3 separate regions of the Homo sapiens genome follow, and regions 1 and 2 are each linked to region 3. The links are contacts of gene promoters, found by promoter capture Hi-C in blood cells and fetal thymus (Javierre and others, 2016). All regions are on one chromosome and are shown on one strand. Each heading gives the region's core, a stretch centred on a gene start or on the middle of the fragment in contact. The rest is flanking DNA. Distances are from core to core; before and after follow the strand shown. Region 1 overlaps CTNND1 (catenin delta 1). Region 2 overlaps CTNND1 (catenin delta 1). Region 3 holds the start of RTN4RL2 (reticulon 4 receptor like 2).

The links. The method cuts DNA at HindIII sites, captures the fragments that hold promoters and counts their contacts. A CHiCAGO score of 5 or more calls a contact.
Region 1: a contact is called between a fragment that was not itself captured here and the fragment with the promoter of RTN4RL2 in region 3, in 3 of 17 cell types (activated CD4 T cells, M0 macrophages and neutrophils). The highest score is 7.6, in activated CD4 T cells.
Region 2: a contact is called between a fragment that was not itself captured here and the fragment with the promoter of RTN4RL2 in region 3, in 1 of 17 cell types (neutrophils). The highest score is 5.4, in neutrophils.

What each region holds. Positions count from the first base shown.
Region 1 is chr11:57,781,617-57,784,555 of GRCh38, forward strand. The region is part of intron 1 of CTNND1 (catenin delta 1); the gene reads left to right. The region is part of intron 2 of TMX2-CTNND1 (TMX2-CTNND1 readthrough (NMD candidate)); the gene reads left to right. Among named protein-coding and RNA genes, the nearest start is that of CTNND1, 21 kb to the left of the region's middle. RefSeq lists an enhancer at 2,640-2,939. The HindIII fragment of the contact is 3,687 bases long and covers 1-2,939 here.
Region 2 is chr11:57,809,861-57,812,933 of GRCh38, forward strand. It overlaps CTNND1 (catenin delta 1), which reads left to right. Exons shown (of 21, transcript NM_001085458.2): 16 at 249-363; 17 at 1,539-1,626. TMX2-CTNND1 (TMX2-CTNND1 readthrough (NMD candidate)) reads left to right here. Exons shown (of 21, transcript NR_037646.1): 17 at 249-363; 18 at 1,539-1,626. Among named protein-coding and RNA genes, the nearest start is that of CTNND1, 50 kb to the left of the region's middle. The HindIII fragment of the contact is 2,866 bases long and covers 194-3,059 here.
Region 3 is chr11:57,458,945-57,461,953 of GRCh38, forward strand. RTN4RL2 (reticulon 4 receptor like 2) reads left to right here and starts at 1,584. Exons shown (of 3, transcript NM_178570.3): 1 at 1,584-1,952. The coding sequence starts at 1,922. RefSeq lists silencers at 432-491, 1,591-1,860. The HindIII fragment of the contact is 14,932 bases long and covers 1-3,009 here.

The DNA of each region.
Region 1 (2,939 bases), core at 285-2,784, 320 kb after region 3:
TGTCTTTGGCAAGGTTGCACAGGGATCCAGGTAAGTAACTCAGTCTCTTCTCAGGATTAGAGAAAACTCAGTGTGAACTGTCCCAGTGGAGGGCCTTGGAGAGGCACATGGATAATGGGGGAGGAGAAGGAGGCGGCCTGGCCTGAGAGATCAGGACTTGTTAGACCAGTCCTGTGTGTGCGTCATGCATGCTCCACAGAGAAGCAGGTTTTTTTCTTTCTGTACCCTTTCAGTCCTGGGCCCCCTCACTAGCTGAGAGCCACACCCTTCCTTGGCTTCAAAGCCAGCCCAGCACTAAGCCATTTTAGTATGTTATGGTTTAGAGGGGGTTCTCAGAATACTTGGGAGGGGAAAAGAGAGAAAAAGAAGAATGTTTTATTTGGTCTCAGAATTTAGGAGGTCATGATGGTGGAGGTGATTTTTTTTTTTTTAAGTTGCAGTAAAAACTTTAAATATTGACAGGTAGCTTTGGGTAAGGATTATAAGACTAAAGGGAGTTTAAGGTACCCTGTTGATGTATAGAGGTTGCCAGCTCAAATTCCTTTTAACAAGGAGTATTATCTTGTTTATATCTTTGTTTTTTAAAAAATTCTTTTCTCTGACGTTCCAATCAGAGAGAATGTATCACTCTTTCCTAAGAGGAGGGTGGTCTGCCCAGAGCCTTCCTTAATTCATCAGAGAGATTCCTGGTGGACACCTAGTTTTTCCTCATGAAAATAAGACTTCTTTGGTCAGCCTTTTACCCTCTTTTAAAATAAAATCCTTAACTAAATTAAATTTAACAGTGTTTAATTGAACAAAGAACAGTTCACTAATTGGGGAGCCTTCTGAGCCACAGTAGGCTCAGAGACTCCAGTGCAGACGTGGTAGAAGATTTATGGACAGAAAAAGGAAAGTGATGAACAAAAAATGGAAGTGAGGTACAGAAACAGCTGGATTGGTTATGGCTCAGCTGGAACAGTTGGCCCCCTTTGAGTGGCCAAAACTCAGTGATTGGCACAAGAGTAGGTTACAGTCTATTTCTACCACCATTTAGGTTATAGTTCATTATGTACAGATAAATCTTTAGGCCAAACTTAAAAGATGTAAGGAGGCATAAACTTGCCTAGGCTAAACTTGATTTAACACTTCTAAATGGAGAAGTTGGGCCTAGCAGGAAGCAGATCCATGAGGAAGCATAGAAAGAGTGAACACTAGGAGAAGGCCATATCCAGAATAATACAGGTTTTGTGACTTGAGTAGTGCTCAGTTGAGATTGTGAAGTGAGCACAGTCCTTTTAATCTTAACGCAAATCAGCTTCAGGGACTTGGAATTAACAGAAGATGAGTCTTCCCAGTGAAGTGAGAAATACTAGAACTGTTCTGACTGAGCATGAAGGTGGAACATGGTTGGGCATGGTGGCTCACGCCTGTAATCCCAGCACTTTGGGAGGCCAAGGCTGGTGGGTCACTTGAGGTCGGGAGTTCAAGACCAGCCTGGCCAACGTGGTGAAACCGTGTCTCTACTAAAAATACAAAAATTAGCCAGGCATAGTGGCACATGCCTATAGTCCCAGCTACTTGGGAGGCTGAAGCAGGAGAATTGCTTGAACCTGGGAGGTGGAGGTTGCAGTGAGCCGAGATGACGGCATTGCATCTGGGCGACAGAGCAAGACTCCATCTCAAAAACAAACAAACAAACAAAAAAAAACGTGGAACATCAAGTGGAGGTAGGGCGGGGTACTTAGACTTTGGACTCTGGTATAAGCACTGATAAGAAGCCATAGAAAGGCCGGGCTCACGCCTGTAATCCCAGCACTTTGGAAGGCCGCGGCGGGTGGATCACGAGGTCAGGAGATCGAGACCATCCTGGCTAACACGGTGAAACCCCGTCTCTACTAAAAATACAAAAAATTAGCCGGGCGTGTTGGCGGGCGCCTGTGGTCCCAGCTACTGGGGAGGCTGAGGCAGGAGAATGCTGTGAACCCGGGAGGCGGAGCTTGCAGTGAGCCGAGATCGCGCCACTGCACTCCATCCTGGGTGACAGAGCGAGACTCCATCTCAAAATAAAAAAAAAGCCATAGAAAATCTTGACAAAATATATTTCTTTGATTTAGAAACAAAATGGCAAGTTTGTTTGTGGTTGAACCGGAATATTTCTTCAAATTTGGGGTCAGGTGCCAGTTAAGGCAAATAAATGCCTTTTAGGTATCTGAAGGGCCCCTTTCTGGCTTGAATGTTATGTAATACAGTTCTGTAGTGTTACAGGTGCTATATTTTGTTGATTAGTATTCTGCAGTAGGAGGCTTGGTATGCTATTTATTTATTTATTTACGTATTTATTTTTGAGACAGGGTCTTACTCTGTCGCCCAGGTGGCAATGTAGTGATTGTGGCTCACTGTGGTCTGGACCTCCTAGACTCAAGCAATTCTCCCACCTCAGCCTCCTGAGTAGCTGGGACTACAGTGTGCACCACCATGCCCAGTTAATTTTTGTAATTTTTTTGTAGAGGTGGGGTTTTGCCATGTTGCCCAGGCTGATCTTTAAACTCCTGGGCTCAAGTGATCTGCCCACCTTGGCCTCCCAAAGTGCTGGGATTACAGGTGTGAGCCACTTTGCCCAGCCCAGTGTGCTTTTGAAAAAAGCCCTTTGCATTCCCTAGAATGGCTGGGCACAGTGGCTCATGCCAGTAATCCCTGCACTTTGGGAGGCCAAGGCAAGAGGATTGCTTGAGCCCACGAGGTCCATGCTGTAGTGAGCTGTGATCACACCACTGCACTCTAGCCAGGGCGACAAGAGCTAGATCCTGTCTCAAAAAAAAAAAAAAAAAATTCCCTAGAACGACATGGAAATGGAGTTTTGCCTGTCATTGTTTTTAGATGGAGAGCATAAATTTGTGACACTCGTTTTGTTGTTGTTGTTTTTGAGACAGAGTCTTACTCTGTCATCCAGGCTGGAG
Region 2 (3,073 bases), core at 377-2,876, 350 kb after region 3:
CACCATGCCCAGCTAATTTTTTGTACTTTTAGTGGAGATGGGGTTTCACCGTGTTAGCCAAGATGGTCTCCATCTCCTGACCTCAGGTGATCCACCTGCCTCAGCCTCCCAAAGTGCTGGGATTACAGGCAGGAGCCACTGTGCCCTGCCCCTGGCATTTATATTCTTATGTTATTAGAGGATATAGGGTCTAAGCTTTTTTCCTGATTTTATATCCAAATTCCGTATGGTGTTACTTTCCTCCAAAGGAACCGCTCAGAAAAAGAAGTTCGAGCAGCAGCACTTGTATTACAGACAATCTGGGGATATAAGGAACTGCGGAAGCCACTGGAAAAAGAAGGATGGAAGAAATCAGACTTTCAGGTATAGTAACTTTTGAGACCAAGACTTTTACTTTTTTTTTCTTGGTCCCAGGATAATGCTTCTGTTTTCTTTCGTTTCTTCCATTTCACCATCATGCTAAACCTATTTTTTTTTTCTTTTTCGGAGACAGAGTCTCACTCTGTTGCCCAGGCTAGAGTGAAGTGGCGCAATCTCGGCTCACTGCAACCTCTGCCTCCCGGGTTCAAGTGATTCTTGTGCCTCAGCCTCCCCAGTAGCTGGGACTACAGGCACATGCCACCATGCCCAGCTAATTTTTTATATTTTTAGCAGAGATGAGGTTTCACCATGTTGGCCAGGTTAATCTTGAACTCTGAGCTTAGGCAACCTGCCTCGGCCTCCCAAAGTGCTAGGATTACAGGCATGAGCCATCACACCTGGCCTCATGTTAAATCTATTTTTGACCCATATTTCTTAATTAGGAATTATTTGGCCAGGTGTGGTGGCTCACACCTGTAATTCCAACACTTTGGGAGGCTGAGGCAGGTGGATTGCCTGAGCCTAGGAGTGTGAGACCAGCCTGGGAAACATGGCGAAACCCATCTCTACCAAAAATAAAAATAAAAGTAGCCAGGCGTGGTGTTGTTTGCCAGTAGTCCGAGCAACTCAGGAGGCTGAGGTGGGAGGATTGCTTGAGCCCAGGAGGTAGAGGTTGCAGTGAGCCGACATCACACTGCTGCACTCCAGCCTGGGCAACATAGCTAAACCCTGTCTCAAAAAAAAAAGAAAAAAAAAAAGATTTGGTTTACTCCTCAAAAGGATGATGTGTCTACAATTCATTTGTTGCCGACACAGCTCAGGTATCCCTCTATGTCATAACATACTTTAGGTGCAGGTGATGATGAAGGATGATGGCCTTTTTGACTTTTGCCCAAATCTACCGTAGCCCTTTGAGGGAATTTTTACTATTCTCTGAAACTGTATTTTCTTCTGATAGTGTCAATATTTGGATCCTTTGTAATCTCCTGTTCTGGAACACAAATAGAAGCCATAATATCCTAGTTTGTCTCACTGTCTAGGGTATTTATTCAACTCTTATAAGTTGCTTTTTCATGATTCTATTTGGGAATAGGAACCTAGAGGTTTATGCCCATTAGAGCATAAGATAGGGTGAATTCAGTATTCTGTCACATTGTCGCATTTGTGTTTGCCTCTAGGTGAATCTAAACAATGCTTCCCGAAGCCAGAGCAGTCATTCATATGATGATAGTACTCTCCCTCTCATTGACCGGAACCAAAAATCAGGTGCAGTATCCAGAAGGCACACCCTCTCCTTTTAGCCACTCTTGCTGTTCTAGGTGGCTTACTAAGAAATAGGATATATATTATTTCTGAATTAGCTAGCCTTTTGTGGGAGGGGAATAATTTTCCACTCCAGGATCCTAACGCAGAAATGGGTAGGTCTTAAGCATTAGAAATCAAAACAAAACAGGTAATTAGCCTGAATGTGATTCCTTTATCATTGCTTGTGAACTTAAAACACTGGAAAGTGAACTCTAGTCTGTTTTGTCTATTTTTTCTCCTTTTAAATTTCCATTTAATACTTAATATTGTAATAGTTACTATTTTAAAATTACAAAATATAAACAATCAGAAAAATAACAAAAAATCACTTGTTTCTTTTATCCAGAGAAAACCACTTGTATCTTTTAAAACATTTTTATCATGTGAGTAAACACATTTTTCCTCTGAGATGAATTATATATTTTGTTTTGTAAATTTTTTCTTTTTCACATAAAGTGTATATTGTGACCATTATTATCTTAATCACACTTGGCTTTTTCCTTGATTATTGGTTCTTAAAGTGTGGTCTGAGAGTCCCAAGATTGTTACAATTTGTACTGATGGCACAGAAAGCAGTGATGCTTCTTGCTGGTGGCTTAGCACAAACCAGGGCAGTGACATAAAGCTGAATGAGTCATTGTAGTCTTCATTGCCACTCACATAGGTAAAAGCAGAGAGCCATTTTCACTTAACTGGAGAAGAAAAAACATCAGGCCAGGTGTGGTAGCTCATGCCTGTAATCCTAGCACTTTGGGAGGCTGAGGCGGGCAGATCACCTGAGGTCAGGAGTTCAAGATCAGCCTGGCCAACATGGTGAAACCCCGTCTCTACTAAAAATACAAAAATTAGCTGGGTGTGGTGGCAGACGCCTGTATTCCCAGCTACTCAGGAGGCTGAGGCAGGAGAATCGCTTGAACCCAGGAGGCGGAGGTTGCAGTGAGCCGAGATTGCACCACTGCATTCCAGCCAGGGCGACAGAGTTGAGACTCCGTATCAAAAGAAAAAAAAAATCACTTTTATTGTTTTTCTACCCTTGAGTATACATCTTTTTAATATTCTGTGCTGATGAAATAGCATATTAAAGCATGATGGTTGTCTTAAGGAAATGTACTTGTGTTATTGTTTCAGTTACTAGTTAGACTAGCCACTTTTTAATTGTTTATTTATTTATTTTGAGATGGGGTCTCCCTATGTTACCCAGGCTGGTCTTGAACTCCTGGGGTCAAGCGATCCTCCTGCCTTGGCCAAGTGTTAGGATTACATCCGGCGCTCAGCCACACTAGCCACTTTGTTTAATGGAACACTGTTTTTACTTGGAAAAAAATGTGTGGTAGACAAAGGGATTATTCAGATGTGCGCATTTGGCAGACATTTTCTCAAAAACGAATGCGATAAGCTTGTTGCTTTG
Region 3 (3,009 bases), core at 334-2,833:
ACACACAGAGACGAGAGACAGAGACGCAGGGAGCCCCGCGGGGAGGAGGAGAGAGACGAAGACACAGAGAGACAGTGAGAAAGACAGAAGACCGGGCAGGGAAACAGACGAGTAGAGACAGAAAAGGTCCGAGAGAGAGTGAGGGAGGGAGGGAACAGAGAGACAGAGACCACGAAATATGAGTAAGAGTCGGGGGAGAAAACCAGAGAAATCGAATGAGAACGCGAGAAGAACGAGAGACCGTGGAGGGAGCAGAGAATGAATGGGAAGAATAAGACCAACATTTATCAAGAGCCGACTGTATGCCAGGCACTGCATTGGACCCTGGCACGGATAGGAAAGGAGGAGCCGCGGCGCGGGCAGCGGGGCGAGGGGCTTCTGTGCTCGCGGGAGCGGCAGCCCAGGGGGCTCAGCAGCCCCGGCACCGCCGCACCTGAGGCTCCAGCAGCCCCAACCCCGCCAGCGCTGCCTGGCCACCGTACCCGAAGCGGCTCCCCCGAGGGCCCCGAGCCTATCCTACGCCGGGGCGGCTCCGCGGACGCGCCGGGCCGAGTCAAGACCTGGGTCAACCGCCCTGCAGCCTTTGTAGGGAAGTGCCTAGGTGATGGGTCTGCTGATACCGCCTGTGACCAGGCCATGAAGGGCCAGAGGGGCTCCAGTGAGACCATAATCCGCCCCTCTTTAAAAGGGGGTAGAGGAAGTTCACGCGAAGCCAACAGTCTTCTCCCCAGCTTTGGGTCCTCTCCTGCACCCCCGCGGGAGATAAGGTCTCCCCTCCCGGACACATCATACATACACAAAAAAACGCACACACTCGCACGCGCGCCCATCTCGCACCCGCTTGTAAATGCACTAAGGGGCATACACACACCGGGCACATATTTCTTTCCACCCATCCCCAAGATCGCAAGCGCAAAACCTCGCACAGCCTCACGTTTCCCACCAGCTCAGACATGCACGCTGGCGGACTTTCAGCGGCTCACCCGTGTGCACACTCACGTGCCCCCCCCCCCGCTTCCCCAAGCCCGTACAAAGGGTAACGGGCAAGCATCCTGAGTCACACCTGCACAAGCATCCTTGCGCGCACGTGCACGCTCATATGCACTCGATCTTGCACGCACAAACTCTTGCATATACTATTCTTATAGTCGCACACTGGGCTTGAGGTCTGGGAGTGGAAGGAAAAGTGGAATCTTGGAGCTGTCCCAGGGGACAGAAATGCTGGAGGCTGGGACACTGGCGCGAGGGACGCGGCTGGGGGCGGGGGAGGGGGTGACCCAGAAGCTCATCTTCTCCTGGAAAGTTGGGAGGGGGGAACAGGACAAGTCCACGGCGTTCCTCTAAACTACCGCATTCCCCCAAGAAGGGATTTCTCTAGAAGAGTGGCGCCGCGAGGACGATCGAACACAGTCCTCCGGGTCGCTTAAGCGGGGGGGAGGGGGGCGGGGTGGAGGGGGTTAGAAAGCCGCTCCCGCCTCCTAGTGGTCGAGAAAGGGTTAAGTCGGCAAGCCAGCAAACGAGGGAGGAGCCAGCGAGTGCGGGAAGGAGTGGGGGTGGTTGGGAAGAGCTTCCTCGCTGTCCCCACTCTCCCTCGGCTAGCAGCCTGGGCACACGGACAGACGGACTGACGGACTCTCGAGCGGACAGCGCAGCTAGCGGGGCGCGGGCGCTGGGCGTCGACGGCCAGCCCCAGCCTTCCCCGCCCCGTCGCGCCCCGCCCCGTCCCGTCGGGGCCGATGGCTCCTCCCGAGGCCCGCAGCCCGGGCGGCGCAGGGTAGAGCGCCGCGGCCCGGCCACGCAGCCCGGGGACTCCCGGGCCCTCCCGGAGCCCCGCGGGGTCCCCGCCGTGCATCCGGCGGGCTCAGGGAGCGAGTGGGAGCGCCCTCCCCCCGCTGCCCCCTCCCCCGAGCATCGAGACAAGATGCTGCCCGGGCTCAGGCGCCTGCTGCAAGGTAAGAACGCCAGCGGCGGGAGAGCGGAGGGCATCCTGGGGAGAGAAGCAGGGCGTCCCCTCTTTCAGGGATTGAGGGTGGGGCAGTTGGGGAGGTGGGGTAACCTGGGGAAGGGGAAAAGCTCAGCGCTGGGGCCGCGCCCCCGCCGCCAGGGCTGTTCTCAGCAGGAGGGCACTTGGCTGGGAGCCCGCGGGCGCGTGCGAGGAGCTCGTGACCGAGGTGGGACGCAGGGGGCAGGTGGACCCGGCCCGGAGCGGGGAGGGAGGCTCAGGTTCCGCTGTCCCCGCTCCACCTGCTCCGGGGGACGCTGAGGACTCGGGCCGGCTGGGGAAGCGCCGACTCAGCAACTCCTCCTGCCCGGTGCCTCAGCACTTTCTGGCCACCTGGGAAGACAGGAGATGTGGGTAGGGGGCTGTCTGGGGAGGTAGGAGGCGCAGAGGGAAATCCAAGTGGCCCTCTCTGGTAGGAGAGATGGAGGGCGCTAGAAAGAGGATAGTTCTACTGATTGAGTGACAGATAAGGGTGTGGGCCAGAGACTGGGGGTGGGGTGGGGAGGGGTCAGGGGGAGAGGGATAGGAAGGAGAACTCAAAGATGGAGAAAGTGGTGAGGGAAGCTCAAAGGAGGAGGGAGATGGAGCGGGGGAGGGGGAGAAGGAATAAAGGTTAGATGGGAAAAGCGTGGAGGGAAGTGGGACCCAGGTGAAGACCAAGGAAGAGGGAAGGAGAGGAAAGACCAGATCAGGGGAGGGATGGGAAGAAGACTATGGACAGGGACCCAGAATCCTGGGATGGAGGTAGCGGGAAAGAGAATCAGGACTGGGACCCTGGGGACTGGAATGGAAAAGGAGAATGGAAAGATCAGAAACCAGAGAAGGATGGGGATGGTGACTAGAGAAGGGGTATCAGGAACCGGCGAAGAGGGTTGGAGACAGGGAACCATGGATGGGAGAGGGGCTGGAGAGGAGGGAAGAGGAGGAGGAAGAGAAAGGCTGAGAGAGAGGGACTGGGGATTGGGGGTGCTGCCCAGGGATGAGACAAAGAGGCTTCTGGTAACCAC